Regions from separate parts of the Homo sapiens genome. Here regions 2, 3, 4, 5, 6 and 7 are each linked to region 1. Evidence: promoter capture Hi-C in 16 types of primary human blood cells and fetal thymus (Javierre and others, 2016). All regions are on one chromosome and are shown on one strand. The core of a region is centred on a gene start or on the middle of the fragment in contact, and the rest is flanking DNA. Distances in the headings are between cores, read along the strand shown.

Region 1 (2,931 bases), core at 1-2,500:
AGGGGCAGCAGTGGTAGGACTACCTACCCAAGTCCAGATGCAGGCCAAGTATCGGGCGGAAGGGCTTGGGCACCACAATGGTCGTGTTGCCAAAGTTGGTGAAATAGACCATGAGGAGAGGTAGTGAGGCAGCTGTAGGTAGCAGCAGCTTATGGCGCCAGCGCAGATTCAGTACATCATCCGCAAAGCCCAGGAAGATCATGCAGCAGATGGCAAGGAGGGCACCTATCAGGGCCACAAACTGGGGGAGGCTCGGGCAGGTCCATGACTCAAGCCTGCTCCCATTCCACCTTTTAAGAATTCCTGTCTTTTCTGATAATTTCTTAGCCCCTCCCCACAAGCCCAAATAACCCCAGTTCTCTCAGGTACCTCCCAGGTCCCAGCCACAGGCAATCACCCCCACGAACCCACTTACTTCATGGTGGGGGAATGCCTTACACTGCTCCTTCACAAAGCAGTTCAGGAAGGGGAAAGGGATGAAGCAGAAGAGGATGATAAGGAAAACAGCACCGCTGATCACTCCCTGGGATTCTGGGCTGTGGCCCAGCAGCAAGGGGGCGAGGGGGAAGAGGAAAGGGGGCGTGGTCACTCACTAGTGCAGGTGTTACAGTAACCCAAAGTGGTCTTCTCATTCCCGGTTTTTTATTCTGGTAAGTGGTGAGGGGGGCGGAGGGAGGAAAGCACCACTGCCAGAGTCCCAGATATACCCAAGGGTCCCTACCCATCCTTTCCCCAATGCGAGTAAGTTCTGCTCATCACCTCTCCGAGTTCCAGGCTGCCTGGGTTAGTTCTGAGTCTTCACGTGTGGTCAAGCACCCCGGTTCCCGCCCCTGCCCTAGCCACTCCTTCCTTAGCCCTTGCCCCCTGCCCGGACCCGTGTGCCGCTGCTCACATCTGCTGTCGGCTGGTTTTGTTGAGGTCCTGACCACAGAGGCGCGCAGCAATGAAGTGGCCCCGGAAGGCCGGGATGAGGGTGACTGTGGCCACAAATCCCAGCAGCGAGACGATCAAATTGATCAGCAGCGGCATGGGCAATTCCGAGAAGGCCCACATGGTGACCGGTCAGGGGCCCGGCTCCGCCGCCTCTTCAGGTAACGGGCAAGCTGAGCAGCAGTCCTGAGGCCTCAGCAGTATGGAGTGGCCGCTCCCCACAGGCAGGCTCTTCCCACACCAATCTGAGCAAAACCCAGCAACTCTGACTTGAGCCGCCGTCGGGACACCGGGGAACCTCTCTAAGGCAACCTATGTTCTGCCCCGCTGCACCCGCCTATCTACTGTTTCCGCCCGGATCTTGTTCGCTGAACAACCATTACTGCGGAAGGCGGCGGCCGCCATTTTTAATATGGGCATTAGAGGGTGGGGATGGAAGTGGAAGAGAAGTGTGATTCCAAATTTCATCCTATGTTCAAGAGTAGAATCACCGAGAGAGTACTGGAAACGCAATTAAAGAAAGGCAGCCAAGAACGGATACTTCCCTAACATTATGTTAAAGATGTACTACCCAGAGCGGAAATGCCAATTGCCCGGTTCCAAGATGAATGCCTCCTTGTACCACGTGTCTGACACCGCTCACATTCCGGTTCCACGTCAGTTTTAGCTCCGTCCGCCTCCATAGGTCAAGCTTAAAGGGCCCGTACCTCTCCCTTAATCTGGGATGCCTCCGGCTCCAGGAAGATGGCTATTGAAAGGCAGGGGGTGGGGAGGAGGGACGAGGGTGTGGAGACGCGCCTGTTTCTTGCAGGAAACCTGTTGCCAACATAGTCGGAAGCCAAGGTAAACACAACTCAGTTCCCGGAAACAAAGCTACGATTTGGAAGGATGGTGTAAATTCTAAAGCGTAGATCCTTGAAAAGCCCCTCCCACTCTGTTTTTCTTGTCCTCGATTCTGGTATTTTTTTCTCAGCATCCCACCCACCTTCTGCCCCAGCTGTAGCAGTTAGTTGCCCGGCAACCCAGCGCAGCACTTCACTGAGGGATTGGGAGTACCCTCAGGTCTTGGATTTAACTCGAGACTTCAGCTTGGCCGTGGATCACTGCATTGTACCTAGCTCCCACAAGGAGGAGATGGAGATTTCCAGGCTGAGGCTCTGGAAAGAGCTGAGGAGGGAGAGGAATCAGACCCACAACTGATTTCCTGTGAGTCTGAGGAACTCCCAGTCAGGTTTCTTCCTGTAGGTCACTGTGCATTTTGCTTGGCCTCCTGCAGGTTGCTGTGCATTTTGCTTGGCCTGTTCCCCTGCAAACAACAATTCACCAGCTTTTTTTTTTTTTTTTTTTTTTTTTTTTTGAGACAGAGTTTCGCTCTTGTTGCCCAGGCTGGAGTGCAATGGCGCGATCTCGGCTCACCGAAACCTCCACCTCCCAGGTTCAAGAGATTCTCCTGCCTCAGCCTCCCGAGTAGCTGGGATTACAGGCAGTAGCTGGAATTACAGGCATGCGCCACCACGCCCGGCTAATTTTGTATTTTTAGTAGAGACGGGATTTCCCTATGTTGGTCAGGCTGGTTTGGGACTCCCGACCTCAGGTGATCTGCCCGCCTTGGCCTCCCAAAATGCTGGGAGTACAGGCGTGAGCCACCACGCCCAGCCAGTTCACCAGCATCTTTATTACCTTTCATTCCCCGACAGGCTCTTAGGCGGCAAATGATTTCCATTTGTCAGAGAGGAAGTCACCACCAGTGAGTTAGGGAAAGGACTCCAATAGCCTAGCGCTTTGTCCACTCTTCCCTCTATGGCATGTTCCAGGAGTCAGGGTCATGTTGACCGTTTTTAAGCCGAAGATAGTTTCTTCTTTCCCTCAAAATCAGATGTGAGGCCGGGCGCAGTGGCTAACGTCTGTAATCCCAGCACTTTGGTAGGCGAAGGTGGGTGGCTCACTTGAGGTCAGGAGTTCGAGACCAGCCTGGCCAACACGGTGAAACCCCGTCTCTAC
Region 2 (2,931 bases), core at 432-2,931, 860 kb before region 1:
AACTTTAATTCCAACTTGTATGAGTTTGTTGATTTTCTGACCAGCCTTGCAGAGAGCAGCACTAGGAGAGAGCTGCTGTTTCTGACCCAGGAAGCTCCCCATTGCTTGCTCTGTCCTACTTTTTACCAAGGAGGCAGAGCCAAATAAGGCCAGCCACAGTTTCCTGACCACTCAGAATCAAGTGAACTATTTCAAGTCTGAAAAAAAAGTGGGAGGGGAGCATGAATACAGCCTAGCTTCTTTCACTGGAGTCCCCTACCTAGCCTCAAGCTATGTGGCATTCTATAATGGCTCCTAACACAGAATGCAAAGCTTATTTATACATGAAAGTCAAAGAGGACATTTTTCCAGTGAAGGAAATGGGATAAATAAATTAACAATACTTTAAAAAATACAATCTTCCATACAGCTATGACATTCACATTCTTGAATAACATCTATCCTGAGCTAAGGATACTGCTGGAAGCTTAAAGAGAAAAAAATTTTATAGCATTTTAATCTTCAATTAGACACCTACAATGAAACTTGGACCATAAATGTGTTTTATATGTGTGACTAATATACCTCAATAAGGTATATTGCTTCCAATATTGCAAGACCATCTGTCACCAACATCTGTCACCAACACGAGGTGCCACCATTTCCTTCAAAGGCAGCCATATAAATCAATGCAGATGTTTATACACTGGGAGAAAGTGCCAAGATAACTCCACAAAGCGCAAATATGCAAACAGATACACCCATTGAGACAACTTAATATGACAGAAAATGAGCAGCCTTAAGAGAAAGGATGTCCATGACTGGACCCATAGAATTTTTCTATTCAATAGTCCTGAAGGTACCCTTTTTAGTACATTAAATCTGAAAATGAAGCTATGAAATAATGCAAAAAGAAACAACAAAGAGGAAACAAAATTAAACCACATTTCCTCTGAGTTTCTGACAGCTTTTTTCCTGCAGCTTATTTACAGAATTCTTACGTGGGGCCCTGCGTGACCAAATGAATGTCATATAGGATAAAAGTTCATCTATCTCTATTAAAGTAGAAGCCCATCTTCTACTCTAAGATGAGATGGCCTCAGGCATGCCTATGATTTGCAGTAAAACAATTCCAAAACTGTTGACCAAAGGAACATTCCGAAAAAGTACACACTTACTGATACTGTGTGGCTGCTGCTGGGAGGGCGATATGTCCAGTCTATAGTAAGTTTGTCAGTGACATCTGAAGTTGACTTGAAAGTGCATTTCAACTTGATCTTTTCTCCAACATAACCTCGGACATGGGCATCTGCACGAATCTCCAAGGAAAAGACGATATAAACACCTAATCAAAGCAAACCCAAACACTTAAAATGCATTCATGTGGGTGGAATATACAGATGTGAGTGAACAATTATTTTTAGAGCCCTCATCAAAAAGCCAGAGCAATAAATATTAACAACTATCTTCTCAGGCAAGCCCACAAGGGACAAGGAGTTGATATCTGCATTAATCAAAGATAGCATTTTTCAATCATTTTCTAATCTTAAATCACAACTGAATGCTTGTGTAAAAATTTAAAATCTGGTCACACCAGCGTTTTCCCGAATACAGGCTTGTGGTTCAATTAAGTACAAACAATGGGTCTGCCCATGGCTGGCTAAAAGGCAACATCACCCATCCCCTTCCATCCCCCGCAGACACACACACACACACACACACACACACACACACACACACACACACACACACTCTGGGAATATGGCAGCTTTTGTGGTCTAAGGGACTTACCCCAAGTATAGCATGGTTGCATCATGAAGCTACCATTGCCTCATCAACAGCAAAATGAGAATAGGAAGTAAGAATGGGAGAATTTATTTCAAATAATTTTCTAAAACTGCCCCCAAGGTACTATCTAGTTTTTCCCTTTTTCTTAAAGCTGGCTGAGGAATCACACATCCATTAAAAGTAAATCATGGAGAAGAAAACAGAATAGGTAAATGCATTCTAGCAAGTAAAAATAAGGTACCATTTTAAAACCCACTAGAGACTTACGTCTTCCAAAACCACTCATTTATCCAACTCTGACACTTCATCTCTCTGAAAAGGGCTGGCACTTTGTTCTAACCAGTTCCTTCTGCTTTCAGAGAACAAAAACTTATCTTTCCCTACAGGGGCATATTTTAGGAAATGACATTGCCAGTACTTTGTTCTTCCTGCTTCCTTATCTACCTCAAGAAGCCATGAATCTTCTGCTGGCCAAGATAAACAGAGCAGCAAGATTTCAGAAAAGTGCAAACCCACACGCTGTCCTGAAAATCGGCAGTGCTTCTGGTACAGGCAGAATGGTGTTGTGATTGAGCACGCAGGCCACGGCTCCTACACCAGAGGGTCTGGGTTCAAATCCCGGCCCTGTCACCTGCTGGCTCTGCAGCCTTAGTAAGTTACCGTACTTCTTCAGTCTTCTCAGCCTCATGGGAATGATAATAACAGTACTTACCTCAGAAGGCCACTGTGAGGATTAAAAGAGTTAAAACACATACAACACTAAGAAGCCTACCCGAACCAGAGTAAGTGCTCAGTGCGTGTTAGACAGTGTCATTGTCATTATTGCCACCTCTTCAGTCCTGCCCACACACTCTCAACCTTTCCTGTCACAGTTATGAGTCATCAGTTCCACTGCCTCTACCTCTGCCAGCTTTGAATCATTTTTCTTGCTCCTCTCTAGACAATCCAGTCTGTTGACATTCCTTTTAAAAGGAGGAGACCAAAACTGAACCCACTAATAAGAACTCATAAGAATCTGACCCTCCCAAAGATGAAGATTACTTCTGGTCTGCCTATGGCACCCTTTCCGACTTTGCCATGCTAAACCTGTCCTGCCTTCTGTGCCTTTGCAAATGCTGTCCCTCTGCTGGAAAGCTTTTATCCCTCAGTCCCCACTTTCTTAGG
Region 3 (2,931 bases), core at 232-2,731, 790 kb before region 1:
GGTCAACTCTACTGAGTGTCGTTGGGAAAGGTTCCCTGGGGGAGGTGGTCCTTGAGCTGAATTTTAAAGGATAAGCTTATGTTTTAGGGAAGAAAAATATTTTATGCAGAAGAGATAAAGCTGTATAGTATGAGGATAAGAGTCTAACTGAGCTAGATCAGAATGTTTGAATCTTGGCTCAACTCTCTACTTGCTGGGTGTGTTTGAGTAATTTACCTAACTTTTCTGTGCCACAGCATCATCATGGTACAATGGAAATAATAGTGCTACCTAACTTGTAGGGTTATTATGAGGACCAAATGAGTAATTCATTTAAGGCACTTAGAACATTATCTGACATAAAAGGCAGTAGGAGGGCCGGGCATGGTGGCTCACACCTGTAATCCCAGCACTTTGAGAAGCCGAGGTGGGAGGATCACCTGAGGTCAGGAGTTCGAGACCGGCCTGGCCAACATGGTGAAACTCCATCTCTGCTAAAAATACAAAAATTAGCCAGGCATGGTGGCAGGTGCCTGTAATCTCAGCTACTCAGGAGGCTGAGGTAGGAGAATTGCTTGAACCTGGGAGGCGGAGGTTGGAGTGAGCTGAGATTGTGCCATTGCACTCCAGCCTGGGCGACAGAGCAAGACTCTGTCTCAAAACAAACAAACAAACAAACAGACAGTAGGTGAATTTTAGCTATTAATACATGGAAAGCATGCTGACTATAGATGATAAGCATTAAAGTTTACTGAGCATGTATGTTTTAGGCATTGCTCTAAATATTTTACTTGAATTTCCTCATTTAATTCTTCCAACACCCCTACTGTACAGTTAAGGAAACAAAGCCTCAAATAAATACAGAAATAAACAAAAATAAGTAAACAATCCAGTCCTGGGGATATAAATGCAGATTTAGGCCAAGTGCCATGGTTCATGCCTATAATCCCAACACTTTGGGAGGCCAAGGCAGGAGGCTCGCTTGAGCTCAGAAGGTTGAGGCTGCATTGAGCAAAGATTGTGCCACTGTACTCGAGCCTCTGTGGCAGAGAAAGACCCTGTCTCTGAAAAAATTAATAAATAGAAATTTAAAAATAAAAAAATTTTAATGCAGATTTATATGATACCGAAGTTCATTTTCTCAACCATTATGAAATACTGTTTCTGGATATGTATAAAATCTTTGTGAGCACACATATCTTTTTTTAACTTAACTTTCATTTTAAATTCAGGGGTACATGTGCAGGTTTGTTATATAGGTAAACTTGTGCCATGGGGGTTTGTTGTATAGATTATTTCATCACCCAGGCATTAAGCCTGGTACCTGTTAGTTATTTTTCCTGATCCTCTCCCTCCTCCCACCCTCCACCTTCTGAGAGGTCCCAGTGTGTGTCATTTCCCTCTGTGTTCATGTGTTCTCATCATTTAGCTCCCACTTCTAAATGAGAACATGTGGTATTTGGTTTTCTGTCACTGTGTTAGTTTGCTAAAGATAATGGCCTCCAGTCCCATCCATGTTCCTGCAAAGGACGTGATCTCATTCTTTTTTATGGCTGCGTAGTATTCCATGGTGTATATGCAGCACATTTTTTTATCCAGTCTACCACTGACAGGCATTTAGGTTGATTCCATGTCTTTGCTATTGTGAATAGTGCACAATGAACATACGTGGAGCACATTTCTGTCTAAGCACAGACATCTAGACCCTTGTGTGAGCATGAGTTAAGTCTAAGCTCTGCTACTGAATTTGTGCCAATAAAAGTTGTGAGCAATTTTCTTTACATTTTTTTCAAACAAACACACCCAGCAGAGTATAATGTCTATGTACTTTATTTATGATTTCTAGTTCATTTAACATGTCTAAGAAACATCCGTGTTGAAAAATTATTTATAAATTAAAATAATATAAACTATCTACTGTCCTTATACTCAACTCCCAATTATAAGCAGGTGGAAAAACCTGGAGAATGTTTTGTTTACATTCTGTGCAGTCTTTGTCAGAGGGCTGCCTGAGCAACTGGGTCAGAGTTTAGTTCTGCTCTGGGAGTAGCAGGACCTCAAGAAGGAAAGGAGGAAAGGAAGTAACTTTTTCTTGAGCACCTGCTATGTGTCATTCACTTTCACCTTCATAATCCATTTAATTTTCGCAAAAACTTTGTGAGGTTGGTGTTTTATCTCCATTTCCCTGATAAAGAAGTTGAGGTTCAGCAAAGTTAAATGACTTGCCCTCAGTCACACAGACTAGGGCAGATCCAGGATTCAAACTCAGGGCTTCTGACTCTTGAGTCCAGAGCTCTGTCCCTGACAGCAGCAGCACTGCCTCTCCTCTCTTCCAGCTGTTATGTCCAGACTGTAGCAGAACCCAGTGTTCCAGCCACAAGTTTTCCAGGAAATAATAAAGGACTCCTAGCTCCACCTCCCAGGGCAAAAATGGCTGCTGTGGGAAACACAGGCTGGACCTACGAATGGCATTAGTGGTTTATTAGTTGATTTCAGTTGTCCACACTAATAGGCCTCCCTCTAACAAAAATAATTGAGAGCTGATTATGCTCAGATATAATGTAAAGTGAAGCCACTTTTTATTGGAAGAAGCATTCCCTCAAAACGTGTAGAGTATTTCACATTATTTAAAGGCAAATAGAGAGAAAATTATATGGAATAAGAACAAAGATGTTTCTTCTCTATTATGAGGGACTCAGTTCTGAGAAAGGATTTTAAATTGTAAGAAATAGGTAAGTCCACGAATCAGTGATTCAGTGGTGTGGAGAGCTTTATTTCTGAGAAGGCCAGTAGCGCTCCCTTCTGACAAGCAAATCTAAGACCTGGATGACAGATGACTTCCTGCATTTGGTTGGTTCTTTTGTCATTCATATCTATCTGTAATACAGTTCTGGCTAATTTAAGAGGATAAGCTTGAAGACCTCTGGAATTTTTCGGCTTTAGGACTTTAAG
Region 4 (2,931 bases), core at 117-2,616, 740 kb before region 1:
ACACTTGTGTGTTCATGAGAGCTGACAGTGGTCTTAAAGGATTAGTGGTACTATTCATAAACAAAAGCTTGTATTAGGAGGAAGTGACAGAATTTTGTAGGACAGCTATTATAGATATAGATCTTTGCAGCAAGTGTATCAGAGTGAAACTTGTTTTCAAGGAGGATATATTTTAAAAGAATCAAATCCAAAAGCTTCTAAGGTTGGTAGCTGTACCATCCCAAAGTGTCTGACAACAGGATAGTGTTGTATCTCTGTATGGCAGTTGAAAATAGGAAAAAAAATACATACATATATGTATGTATATATGTGTGTGTGTGTGTGTGTGTATTTTTTTTTTTTTTTTTTTGAGACAGAGTCTGGCTCTGTCACCCAGGCTCTGCTCTGGAGTGCAGTGGCACGATCTCAGCTCACGGCAACCTCCATCTCCCAGTTTAAAAGTGATTCTCCTGCCTCAGCCTCCCAAGTAGTGGGATTACAGCCTGGCTAAGGTGTGGTGGTATGCGCCTGTAATCGCTTTTAGTGGAGACGGGGTTTCACCACATTGGCCAGGCTGGTCTCAAACTCCTGACTTCAAGTGATCTGTCTGCCTTGGCCTCCCAAAGTGCTGGGATTACAGGCATGACCTACTGCGCCCGGCGCTGAAAATAGGAGATTATAAATCCCGAATGACATTATTGAATATTAAACAAAATATTTAGGTTTCATTTTATCGGACCTTTAGAGTGGGTGATTATCTGGGTACTCTTACTTTGGTAAGTCCATTGAACAAATCTAAACTGGCATCTCCACAAAGGTTCTCATCAAGTGATCAGTCCTCCTTTTTCCTGTAAAATTTTTCTATAAGTGACTACACAGTTTTAGCCCTTTTTTAATGAAAAAAAGTTTGTGCACAGATTTGACATACGTGTGAAAAAGATGAGCTTAGTGAAAGATAGGTGAGAACCTTTTTGTTTTTTACAGATAGTAGAGATGACAACAGAGACTTATTTCCATCCACCATTCTACACATGCCAAGATACCAAAGAACCAGTGTCTAGCCTGGTAGCTTGACCTTCCACTGCAACCTAAGACAAGTAGTAAAGCCCTTACCTTGAAGTAGGGTCATGGGTGATGCTGTTGATTACAAGGAGTTCAGAAAGAACTACATGTAAGATTGAAGCCATTCAATAACTACTTATTTAGGATTTTGTGATTGTGATGTATAATGCCAGACACAGAAGAAAGAATAATCAGATATGAACATGTAATCAGAAGAGCTTACAGCCTAGCAATGTAGAAGATCTGCTTAGAAATACAATGCAGAAAGTTTAAAATCCTAGTAAAAATAGAGGTAAAATGTAGAAAGCTAGTTTCTTTATACAGTGCAACAGTATAGTATTGAGAAAGAAGGAAGTAATGCAGTTTATGGTGATAAATTCTTTTTGTTTCTCTTGATAGTCTTTTTGTTTGTTTGTTTGTTTGAGACAGTTTCCCTCTGTTGCCCAGGCTGGAGTGCAGTGGCAACGATCTTGTCTCACTGCAACCTCCGCCTCCCAGGTTCAAGCAATTCTCCTGCCTCAGCCTCCTGAGTAGCTGAGATTCCAGGTGCACGCCACCATGCCTGGCTAATTTTTTGTGTGTTTTAAGTAGAGATGGGGTTTCTCCATGTTGGTCAGGCTGGTCTTGAACTCCTGACCTCATGATCTGCCCGCCTTGGCCTCTCAAAGTGCTGGGATCATAAGCATGAACCACTGTGCCCGGCCTTCTTGATAGTCTTAAGAGCTTCTCTGTCATATGTCCTATATTCCTGGCTTTCAGCTTCCTTTCTGCTTACGTGTTGCAGGTGATGCATGTCCTTTGTAATAATCTGGACACTTTTCAGTTGTGTTTTAAAAAACATCAAACTGGTTTAGGCATTTAGGGAAATTTTATTGGTTTTTATAACTGAAAAGTCCAGACTTATCTTTCCATCTCTCAATTCTGTTTTCTAGTGTATGTTGGCTTGGTTTTAGGCTAGGCCTTTTCTAAATGGTGTAAAGATGGCAACTCTATCTTACTGGCTTATCAACTCAATCAGGAGAAAACTCACTTTTCCGTAGATTCAGCTGAAGTCCTGAAGCTGGTATTCATTGACTCTGTTAGGCCTCCATAGTGTCTTGTGCCCACTCCTGGATCAGTTGCTTTGGCTGGAAAATGCTGTATTCTTTTTAGCCTGGCCAGACTTGTATGTTCATTCCTGGGGCTAGTGGGTGAGGTCAACCCCTTCTGAACTGGTCAGCCTCTTCTGGATTGAGTGGAGTGGATACCCAAAGGAAAAAAATGAATGTGATGTTTTAGAGAGAGAAATAACAAGAGCTCAATATACTTTTTGCATTCCTCTGGAATTTGTGGTATTTTAGGATGGAAGTAGAATGGTGGTCAGCTAACAATAAGACAATTCTTGGTGTTTTTACATTAACTACAGGTAATAATTAAACTTGTGCGGTAATTACATGGGGAAAATCCCTCTCATTAATTTCAATACTAAATATGGTATCTTTCCCTTTTTTTGCATTATTAAGCTTACTGAAATATACATAGCAAAAAATAAAATACAGAAGGCCAGGCGCAGTGACTCATGCCTATAATTCCAGCACTTTGGGAGGCCGCGGTGGGAGGATCACTTGAGGTCAGGAGTTCGAGACCAGCCTGGCCAACATGGTGATACCCCGTCTCTACTAAAAATCCAAATAACAGTTCAATTCCTTGAAGCAGTAAAGCTTTGAGCTGCACTGAGAGGAGACTAGACTGCCTAAGTCATTACAGCTAATTAGCCGTTAGCTCTTGTGTGGAAAAAATGGCAGAGGAGCATGAAGCAAGTGCTGAAGATGCCTCAGAATTGTCAAGAAATGTTATAAATAATCTCTTTCTCTGGTAAATAAGGGTAACTTTTTCGACCACATTAGCTTT
Region 5 (2,931 bases), core at 248-2,747, 700 kb before region 1:
TCCTTTTCCTAAATGAAATTATATTATTTCAACTACTAAAACTTCCCGCCACCCTGCTATTTCTCTTCCAATTACTGTTCAAACATTTTTGGTGAGTGCTGCTTTTATAAATATGTGATGTCACATATTTCAGTGACAGCTGATGTTATCAGAAAAATCCTGTTATCCTGTGTATTTACTAGTCCTCATGATCTAGACTTAACCCCTTTTCTGTGTTACAGAGTAACTTCACATAAAAGCAGATACCTTTAAGTTTGTGTAGACTTCTGAATAAGATGATAGACGAGAATTTTTTTTAAAAAAGGAATTTAAAGGAATCTTGTGCAACTTCTGTTGATAGCTCTTAATTTTGTTATACAGTCTTTTTAATGAGGATTGGTAGGGCAATCCTACCAATTGATGGGGGTGAGGAGACTGTTGGGCCCTTATTCTCTTATGAAAATCTGTTTCTACAAGGACTAGGCCTAAGTAGATTTAGGCAACGGGTATCATATCCATGAAAAATGTCATTTTAAGACACTAATATCAACAGTATATCTCAGTGTGTGAGATATATAAATACACATACACCCCATGTGCTTTTTTGTTGGTTTAGTGTAAACTGAGTACCACTTTATATTTTCTCTTCCATAGTGAGATGTATGCAGTATGTGGCCATGTTTACTAACATACTCATTCTTCACAAAATTCTGAGATTATAAAATGTATATAGTTAATATTTGTTTGAGCTTGTGACCTGACTTCTAAGAGCTACTTCTAACACAGCCTTAGGTCTTCAATTAACAAAGTAGGAAGTTGAGCACAACCTTGTCCACAGCCATTTTAAATATCCACTTAGCCCTGTGTAGTTGGTAGGTGGACACCACTTTCATAAGTGAACTTGAGCTCACTACTCAATTGTGCAGCTTAATATGCTGACTAGGGACATTCCCCTATGGATTATCTTTATATCACTGTCTTTCTAAGCCCAGAGATGTCATAAGTGACAAGAAAAGTGATAGGATCAAGAAATGGGTGTCACTGCTTCATTTGGAACATGTTATTAACTATGGTCTCTTTCAAATAAATAGTAGTTTTATATTTCAACACAAGTTGCTATAAGCAGTCCTTGATGGGTTTTTGATTGCATCAGCTGGAAAGCCTCAAATCTAAGAGGGCTTCCCATCCTAGATATAAAATAGGTGTTGCCTATTGCTGTGCTTATAAAATGAAAAAGGAAATTGAGGACACTTTTGCAAATGCCAGAATGTAAGATTCATTCAGTGTGCTCCCTGGGCCTTTATGGCATGGGTTGACAGGATTTGTTTATTTTCTAAAATTAGCTTCATTCAATATTTATCATCCTCCTTTCCCTCTCTGAGAATGAACTATGTATAAAATAAGCTTCTGCCTATTTGCATTTATCTTCCAAACCCAATCTAGTAGGATGTTCTCATTTTAAAAACGAGGGGAAAAGACCAGAGTTTTTCAGGAGAAAACTGGAGGAAAATGGGCACAAAAACTCAGAAGGCAGCTATTCCCAGCAGCTTCCTAGTTAACAACCCCCATGCTGCCTCCAGTCTTTGTCTGTATTCTTCTGTATTTAACCTTCAGATTGTAAGCCTTTTCTGGCAAGCTTTTCTTCTTTTTTTAAACTCTTTTCCTGAAACTTTTTATGAATGGCTATGGCACCATTAATGCTGCTGAATATCTTTAAACTCTGCACAAGCAAGTGTGTAGCTTAAGGCCACTACTGGTAAGGAAACCAAGTGTCCTCTGTGCCTTTTTTCTTTCTGTGAAGTAATTTAAGAATATCCAAAAAAATTAGACTTTAAAAAGTTATCTTGGTACAACACCGTGTGTATATACACTTGGAAGCTTAAAAAGGTGTTTTGTCTGGAACTTAGAAGCAGCTCTAAATCTAGTAGAGCAGACTTTCTAACATACCTAGTTTTGTGTATTGGCTTTGCTGGAGTATGATAGCAAAATGAAGACTCTTTTACTCAGCTCTGGTATTGCTCATAACTTACCAAGAGGCTAATACTAAACTTGGAAAATTGTTTAAGTATGTTTTATCAAGCAGTCTGGGTTTTGTTTTTTAATATACTTTTTAATGGATATGTGAAAACTGAAGGAAATGTTAAAGGTTTTTTAATGGTGCAAGTGAAGGTGCCAGTTGCTATTTGATATCACACTCTACAAAAGCTTCATTACTTTATTTGATGGTGGTTGCTAAGCAGCCATTGCACAGAGCATAAGTCTACTGGGTGCCTTTACATGCCAGAGGCTGATGCTGCACTGTTGATGTCATGTGAGGAAATAATGCACATGCTCTAACTGCTCAACAGGAAATGAACCTAGAAACAGAAAATGAAAAGGTTGATTGAAATAAAACTTGATCAACGCGACTGTATTTTGAAACATTCCAGGAAGGTTACTTCTTGTCAAACTTGCCTGGCAGTGTTTGTTCAAAACTTGTATTTAATAAATGAACATCTGACTTACAACCTTTGTTATCACTTTATTCCAGTATTAAAAGCTAGTGGCAGTTTCAGAAATCCCCCTGAAAACTTAGAGGATTCTGACGTTTCACTTTTTTTTTAGGTAAGTAACATCAAATATGTGTGACCTGGCTGACCCAGCCTGCCTTACCAGGCCTCTGGAGGGGACCCTGGGGTTACCCTCAGGAGATGAATCTCACAGTATGGTTTTCCTAACCAGCTCTCTTTTGGCTTCACTGTTTTTCTTTATCTGGCCTGAACCCCAGGTCTTTGTAATCATTTGCTGTTATCTTCCCCTTTCTTGCTCCTTGTTTCCATACCCCTGCCATGCAAGATGTCAGCCTAGATTAACTCAGCCATTCCCCTCTGCTGTAATATCCAAACTGCAGACCATTGTTGGAGGAAAAACACAATTTTTAGAATGGTACAACCACAAACTTATCTCTAACGT
Region 6 (2,931 bases), core at 254-2,753, 660 kb before region 1:
TTTGACAAATCACTTTTAAAGTTTTAATCAGGGGCTAAACGTTTTCTTATCTACTGGCATTATGAGATAATTGTAAACTACTGTTTTATTTTTCTTAACACTAGTATATAATGTAAAGCCTGTCAAGGAATTGCAGTTATTTCAAATAGGATCATATTTATAAGGGGTTTTTGTCTTTAAAACTTTTTCCTGAACAGTAGTTGCTGCTTCATTATGAGAAGAGTGGTTGACTCCTTACATTAAACTTGAGTATTTTTTCTGAATTGGACTTGAATGAGCTCTGTTCCATGGGTAAGCTTTTTATGTGGTGTTTGAGGCAATCCAGTATGAGTTGATGGTATGCATTGAGTAGTGGTAAACCTCTGAGCTGGTAGTTTTCAGTGTAGAAGCAAGCACTTTTTTTTTTTTTTTAACATAGCCTTACTAATCAATGATAAAGTTCCAAAAGGGAAGTTTAGGGTTCACCCTGGGCTGACATAGAATTCTAAAGACTGCTTCTCAGAACTCACTCATAGCTCTGTATCAAGTCTTATCTGGATTCATGAAGAAATGGTTATATGATCCAAAATGATTCTAACCTCTTTAAACTCTGGTTCGCCTTCAGTGAATAATGACTATAACTTGCCTATGTAACAACACCTATGTTAATACTTCTAAAACTAGGTAACAGAACTTCCAGATGACTTTGCTGTTTGAACTCCCTTAGCCATAGGAGACTTGTCCTTCACTGCTGTTGGTTCCTAACTTCCTTTGTATGACAATTAGGAAGTAGAATTGAGGTTTTGTTTTATTGAGCACTGTAAGAAATCAGAGGTCCATTTTTTGCCTTTCCCCTTCCCTCTGTAGTGTCAGTATCCCATTTTTCTAAGGATTCTCTCAGGTAATGTTCATACTACTGTACTTTGCCATCTAAATAAACATAGTACAGCAGCACCCTTTCTGTTGACTAGAAGTTAGGCTGTTGTAATAATAAACCCCTGAAACAGTGTGTTTATCAGTAACTAGTCTTCGTTTATTAATGTCATAATCCAGTTACCTTCCCTACTACTTCACAAAATATTAAAAGCAAAATTTCCATCCTGATCATAACATAGCAAACTTTAATTAGATACAAATTGAAACTGAGTTACAGCATTGGTGTGTATTTATTTTCACTTGAAATTGCAGTTTAGTTCATGTGGACTGAGACAGGCTTTTGGATTGGACTTGAAAAGATAGTACTCCTGCAGCTGAAAGGTAGTAGGAGAGCGTGATTTTTTTTTTTTTTTTTTAATGTTTACTGGTCATGTATGTACCAAGAGTGGGAGTTGCTCCTTCGTTGCCTTCACAGCTAGTCCTAAGATTGGCAGAAGGTAAATGAAGGAGGGAACACAAGCAGAGTGGAGTGCACGAAGCCTCCGAGTAGAAGTCAGTGGATGTGGGCTCTCATCTCCGTTACTGAACAGTTATGAGACCCTGGGCAAATTCACTTTTAACCTTAAATTTCTGATCTGTAAAATGAAAAGTTTGGACTAAATAGCTCATGAATCTGTTCTGTGTCAGTATTATGATTCCTTTCTGTTGTATTAAACTTTTGGTCAAATCAGAATTTCTTATTCTGAGTTTATTTCAAAAGTCAGAGTCAAGTGAGACGATTTGATAATTTTTGTTTTTTTTTTGAGTCAGGGTCTCACTATGTTGCCCAGGTGCATCTTGAACTCCTGATCCTCCTGCCTTAGCCTCCTGAGTAGCTGGGATTCTGTTTGGTAATTTTTAATATCAGATTATACATTTGCCTATATAACTGGCATTATTATTAGGAGGAGAAATTTCAACTTGGAAAGTTTTCGTTGTGTGGAAAAAACATAAGGACTTTGGGGAAGTTGACCAGTTTCATTTATAAGAAAAATGAGGATAAAGTTTTTACACATAGTTCTGAGAACCTACAGAATCCCAGGCATTATCTGGTGTTTAGAGGCCCTCTTGTTTGGCTAAATGTGTTGTCATTGTTGTGAATTCCAGACTATCCAAAAGAGAAGTTATTTTCAGTCTAGGTGGTATATTCCTGTAGGTGTATGAATTTTGAATGAAAAGAAAAATCCAATACATCAATGTATTTATAAATCTGAAGTGATAGTACCTACTTCATAGGATGTAGTTATTAATATGTTCTGAAATGGTTTATACTGAGCATTAGAAATTCAGTCTTTAGAACTTTTCTTCCTCTGTGACTGAAAACCAGATGACATGTCCCCATCTTTCACTTCCATTTAATTATCTTAAGGCACATACTCCTGGAGGAAATCATCATTCACACAATAGTGATCCATCTTCTTATTGGAAGTTGAGAGAAACTATTCCCATCTTGACTTAATTCTCATCTCTTTGCTCACCTTAGAGCTGTCCTTCCGTGGGGCAGCTGTGCAGACTCTATACCAATTGCCTCCCTTACCCTGTGGCTAGAGGGGGTGGCAACAGTGCTTTGCTTGCTCAGAGGCATAACAGACTGCAGTGCCTCTCTCTTTTGGAAACTCGCTGTGTTTTAATTGTAGGTCTCCTAATTAAGATCTCTTTGTGCCTGCCCACATTCCACTAGTGTTGGCACAGAGCTTCAGCTTCCTTCTAGCACTTAACTGAAGGCCTTCAATCGGGCCTTTTGTGAATATCTTGTCTCTTTCCATTCTTCCTCTGCCAAGGTGGAGAGCCCAGTGGCATAGACCTTTGAGAAGGGGGAAGCTTTGTGACTATCACTACTTTGGGAGGAATTTATTCGAGGATTGCTGGGATGGGACCTTCCTTTGTTTGCATATGTTATTTTCAGGGATTAAGAAAGGTTAAATTACTAATGAGTCTGGCATGATGTACCTACATTTTAATCAGATTCTTAACCCTGTAGGCACTAGTAGGAAAGAGGATGCCACAGAGTTCACTGTTACAAAGTATTTCCTTGGA
Region 7 (2,931 bases), core at 315-2,814, 530 kb before region 1:
TCTGTCTCCAGGCTGGAGTGCAGTGGCACAATCTCAGCTCACTGCAACTTCTGCCTCCCGGGTTCAAGCTATCCTCCTGCCTCAGCCTCCTGAGTAGCTGGGACTGCAGGCGCCTGCCACCACGCCCAACTACTTTTTTGTATTTTTAGTAGATACGGGGTTTCACCATGTTAGCCAGGATAGTCTCGATCTCCTCACCTCGTGATCTGCCCGCCTCGGCCTCCCAAAGTGCTGGGATTATAGGTGTGAGCCATGGCGCCCGGCCCCTGTATTATTTATGTATCTTTTTAATTGTGTTTTGAGGGACAGCAAAGAAAGAAAATGATTCTCTTGAGTTTCCATTGATTTGCCATCTATTTATGTCTTCATATAGAAGTTCACTGCAGAAACTGATAACGGGTGTGTGTGTGTGTGTGTGTGTGTGTTTTAATTCTCTGCAAGCTTTTGTTTTAGAATAGAAATGTGATGGACTTAAAACCCTCACTGAGTAAATTACTTTTCAAGTTTTAGGTTTCGTATGTGGTCTACATTTTATTGTAATCTTCTCTCTGATTTTATCTATAATAGCTTCATATAAATAGAAAAGACAGAACAGTCCTCCCTGACAATTATAGAAACTAGCCTTAATATGACCATGAATTGTGTGTGCATGTATATGTGTATAAAATATTGCGGTGAATTACAAAGGAGAAGGTGACTATAATTCTGGAAGTAAGGGATCCTGAAGCATTTAGAGATTCAAGAAAGAACTTGACTTTTTTTGAGAGAGAGTTGTGCATATTTATCCTGAATTATTATACCACCTGTTATTCTTGTATCTCTCTTGCACACACAATTTGTTATGGTTAGACAATTTGCCTTCTGGCAGCCTAATGTTACTATAAAATATTGTTCCAAAGTGGTTAGAACTGGAGCAGTGGGTATAAAATGGAAGTATTGTACATTTTCTGTCACTGTAGTTGTTTTTTTTTTTTTCTGTTACTGTAGTTTTCAAATGCTTAGACTTACAGAACTTTAAAGACACAGAGCACTTTGGATTTCATGTAAACTAACCTCCTATGTTAGGGATATTTCAATAATCAATTAAGTGACTTATCCAAGGTCACATAATTAGTGGCAAAGGCAGAACAGAAACCTAATTCTCCAGGTTTTTTTACTTGAGGCACTTAACAATTCATGTAGTTAAGTCTGTGTAGGAGAGAGTTGTTATTTAGTCCAAAGATAGTGTACTCAAACCATGTAAGAATTATTAAAAGTTGTTTGGCAAAGCTCAACTTTATGAGGGAATTTTTTTTTTTTTTAACCGTCCTGGAGAGATCATCTAACTTATGGGCCCTCAGTTTTCACATCTGTAAGACAATCAAGGGCTCTTGCAAGTTCCTTTTAGATCTGGAATGTTTTTTCCAAAAATGTTAAAAAAAAAAAAAAAAAAAAAAACCAAAAACTTTGTAATCATATTTATTAATTCTTCCTCAGAGAAAATCAGATCAAATTTCAATAGGGAAAATTGTTAACTTACCTTTTAGTATATGCTATATTTTAATAATTGTTAAACCAGTAAACATTAATGTAAAGAGGTTTATTATTTCAAGAACTTTAAGAAGACAAATGTTAATTTAGGATAGGATAAATTTATCATGTTTAGAGGTGACCATACCTTCTAGCCATATTAGTAGCTGTAACAGAGAGACCTGTGTCAACTGCCTGGAACCTGTAATTTGTGGTGTCCTGGGTGTTCGGAGATTTATGCTATACTTAGTATGGGGAACTATGGTCCTATTTTGGAAGCCTTGTTTTGCTTGTATCTGGATAATGGAATGACTCAAAGAGAGACATATGATTTTACCCTACTTCTTTCTTCATCTTGACGTACTGAAAGCCTGGAATTCTGGCCAGGTGTGGCGGCTCATGCCTGTAATCCCAGCACTTTGGGAGGCTCAGGCGGGCAGATCACTTGAGGTTGGGAGTTTGAGACCAGCCTGGGCAACATGGCAAAACCCTGTCTCTACAGAAAAATACAAAAAATTAGCCAGGTGTGGTGGCCTGTGCCTGTAGTCCCAGATACTTGGGAGGCTGAGGTGGGAGAATCACCTGAGCCCAGAAGGTTGAGGCTGCACTGAGCCAAGATCACGCCACTGCACTACAGCTTGGGCAATAGAGCAAGACTCTGTTTCAAAACAAACAAATCCTGGAATTCATCAAAGCATGATCTAAATTCTGTTTCTTTCTTTCTTTCTTTCTTTTTTTTTTTTGAGGCAGAGTCTCACTTTGTAGCCCAGGCTGGAGTGAAGTGGTATGATCTTGGCTTACTGCAACTTCCGCCTCCCAGGTTCAAGCAATCCTCCCACCTCACTCTCCCCGTAGCTGGGACTACAGACGTGCACCACCAGACTTGGCTAATTTTTTGTATTTTTTGGTAGAGACAGGGTTTTCCCATGTTGACCAGGCTGGTCTCGAACTCCTGACCTCAGGTGATCTGCCTGCCCTGGCTCCCAAAGTGCTGGATTAAGGCATGAGCCACCGCTCCCGGCCTAAATGCTGTTTCTTCTATCAAGTCATCCCTGACTGTACCAGCTGGAAGTAATCTCTTCCTCTGAATTTCCACGCACTTTATCGGTTACTCTCTCATGTTACTTAACACATTCTGCCTCATATTACAGTTATTTGTGTTTGTGTCTTATCCCTATTAAGCTTCTTGTAGGCAGAATGCTAGCCTGTGTCATCTTAATTCTCAGAAAGCATGTTGTATGTATAGTAGATGTTCGATAAATAATTACTCAGTTAATTCTTATAATATCGCAAAAATGGAGATTACCAGTACCTATAATTAGTTTTTGAACATGCTCATCAGTAAAGTGGATGGGCCAGGTGCAGTGGCTCACTCCTGTAATCCCAACACTTTGGAGGCCAAGGCGCGCAGATGACTTGAGG

What was found. The method cuts DNA at HindIII sites, captures the fragments that hold promoters and counts their contacts. A CHiCAGO score of 5 or more calls a contact.
Region 2: a contact is called between a fragment that was not itself captured here and the fragment with the promoter of DPAGT1 in region 1, in 1 of 17 cell types (activated CD4 T cells). The highest score is 5.3, in activated CD4 T cells.
Region 3: a fragment that was not itself captured here is called in contact with the fragment with the promoter of DPAGT1 in region 1 in 2 of 17 cell types (naive CD4 T cells and non-activated CD4 T cells); the score reaches 7.2 in naive CD4 T cells.
Region 4: a fragment that was not itself captured here is called in contact with the fragment with the promoter of DPAGT1 in region 1 in 4 of 17 cell types (fetal thymus, non-activated CD4 T cells, naive CD4 T cells and 1 more); the score reaches 6.6 in fetal thymus.
Region 5: a fragment that was not itself captured here is called in contact with the fragment with the promoter of DPAGT1 in region 1 in 1 of 17 cell types (total CD8 T cells); the score reaches 6.2 in total CD8 T cells.
Region 6: a fragment that was not itself captured here is called in contact with the fragment with the promoter of DPAGT1 in region 1 in 1 of 17 cell types (non-activated CD4 T cells); the score reaches 5.2 in non-activated CD4 T cells.
Region 7: a fragment that was not itself captured here is called in contact with the fragment with the promoter of DPAGT1 in region 1 in 4 of 17 cell types (naive B cells, total CD8 T cells, naive CD8 T cells and 1 more); the score reaches 7.5 in naive B cells.

Annotation. Positions count from the first base shown.
Region 1 is chr11:119,100,603-119,103,533 of GRCh38, forward strand. DPAGT1 (dolichyl-phosphate N-acetylglucosaminephosphotransferase 1) reads right to left here and starts at 1,251. Exons shown (of 9, transcript NM_001382.4): 1 at 893-1,251; 2 at 416-536; 3 at 28-241. The coding sequence starts at 1,053. It also overlaps a transcript of C2CD2L not described here. RefSeq lists enhancers at 379-1,092, 904-2,103, 1,286-1,595, 1,807-2,519. The HindIII fragment of the contact is 9,998 bases long and covers 1-1,619 here.
Region 2 is chr11:118,239,054-118,241,984 of GRCh38, forward strand. It overlaps MPZL3 (myelin protein zero like 3), which reads right to left. Exons shown (of 6, transcript NM_198275.3): 2 at 1,158-1,324. Among named protein-coding and RNA genes, the nearest start is that of MPZL3, 12 kb to the right of the region's middle. RefSeq lists enhancers at 1,990-2,931, 2,458-2,527. The HindIII fragment of the contact is 2,435 bases long and covers 465-2,899 here.
Region 3 is chr11:118,308,939-118,311,869 of GRCh38, forward strand. The region is part of intron 4 of CD3E (CD3 epsilon subunit of T-cell receptor complex); the gene reads left to right. Among named protein-coding and RNA genes, the nearest start is that of CD3E, 5.7 kb to the left of the region's middle. The HindIII fragment of the contact is 2,816 bases long and covers 74-2,889 here.
Region 4 is chr11:118,360,679-118,363,609 of GRCh38, forward strand. All of the region lies in intron 1 of UBE4A (ubiquitination factor E4A), which reads left to right. Among named protein-coding and RNA genes, the nearest start is that of UBE4A, 2.5 kb to the left of the region's middle. The HindIII fragment of the contact is 2,349 bases long and covers 193-2,541 here.
Region 5 is chr11:118,396,726-118,399,656 of GRCh38, forward strand. UBE4A (ubiquitination factor E4A) reads left to right here. Exons shown (of 20, transcript NM_001204077.2): 20 at 1-2,486. The region is part of intron 3 of LOC100131626 (a long non-coding RNA gene); the gene reads right to left. Among named protein-coding and RNA genes, the nearest start is that of ATP5MG, 3.4 kb to the right of the region's middle. The HindIII fragment of the contact is 232 bases long and covers 1,382-1,613 here.
Region 6 is chr11:118,439,530-118,442,460 of GRCh38, forward strand. The region is part of intron 1 of KMT2A (lysine methyltransferase 2A); the gene reads left to right. Among named protein-coding and RNA genes, the nearest start is that of KMT2A, 4.5 kb to the left of the region's middle. The HindIII fragment of the contact is 2,419 bases long and covers 295-2,713 here.
Region 7 is chr11:118,575,013-118,577,943 of GRCh38, forward strand. The region is part of intron 1 of ARCN1 (archain 1 coat protein complex I subunit delta); the gene reads left to right. It also overlaps a transcript of IFT46 not described here. Among named protein-coding and RNA genes, the nearest start is that of ARCN1, 4.1 kb to the left of the region's middle. The HindIII fragment of the contact is 2,250 bases long and covers 440-2,689 here.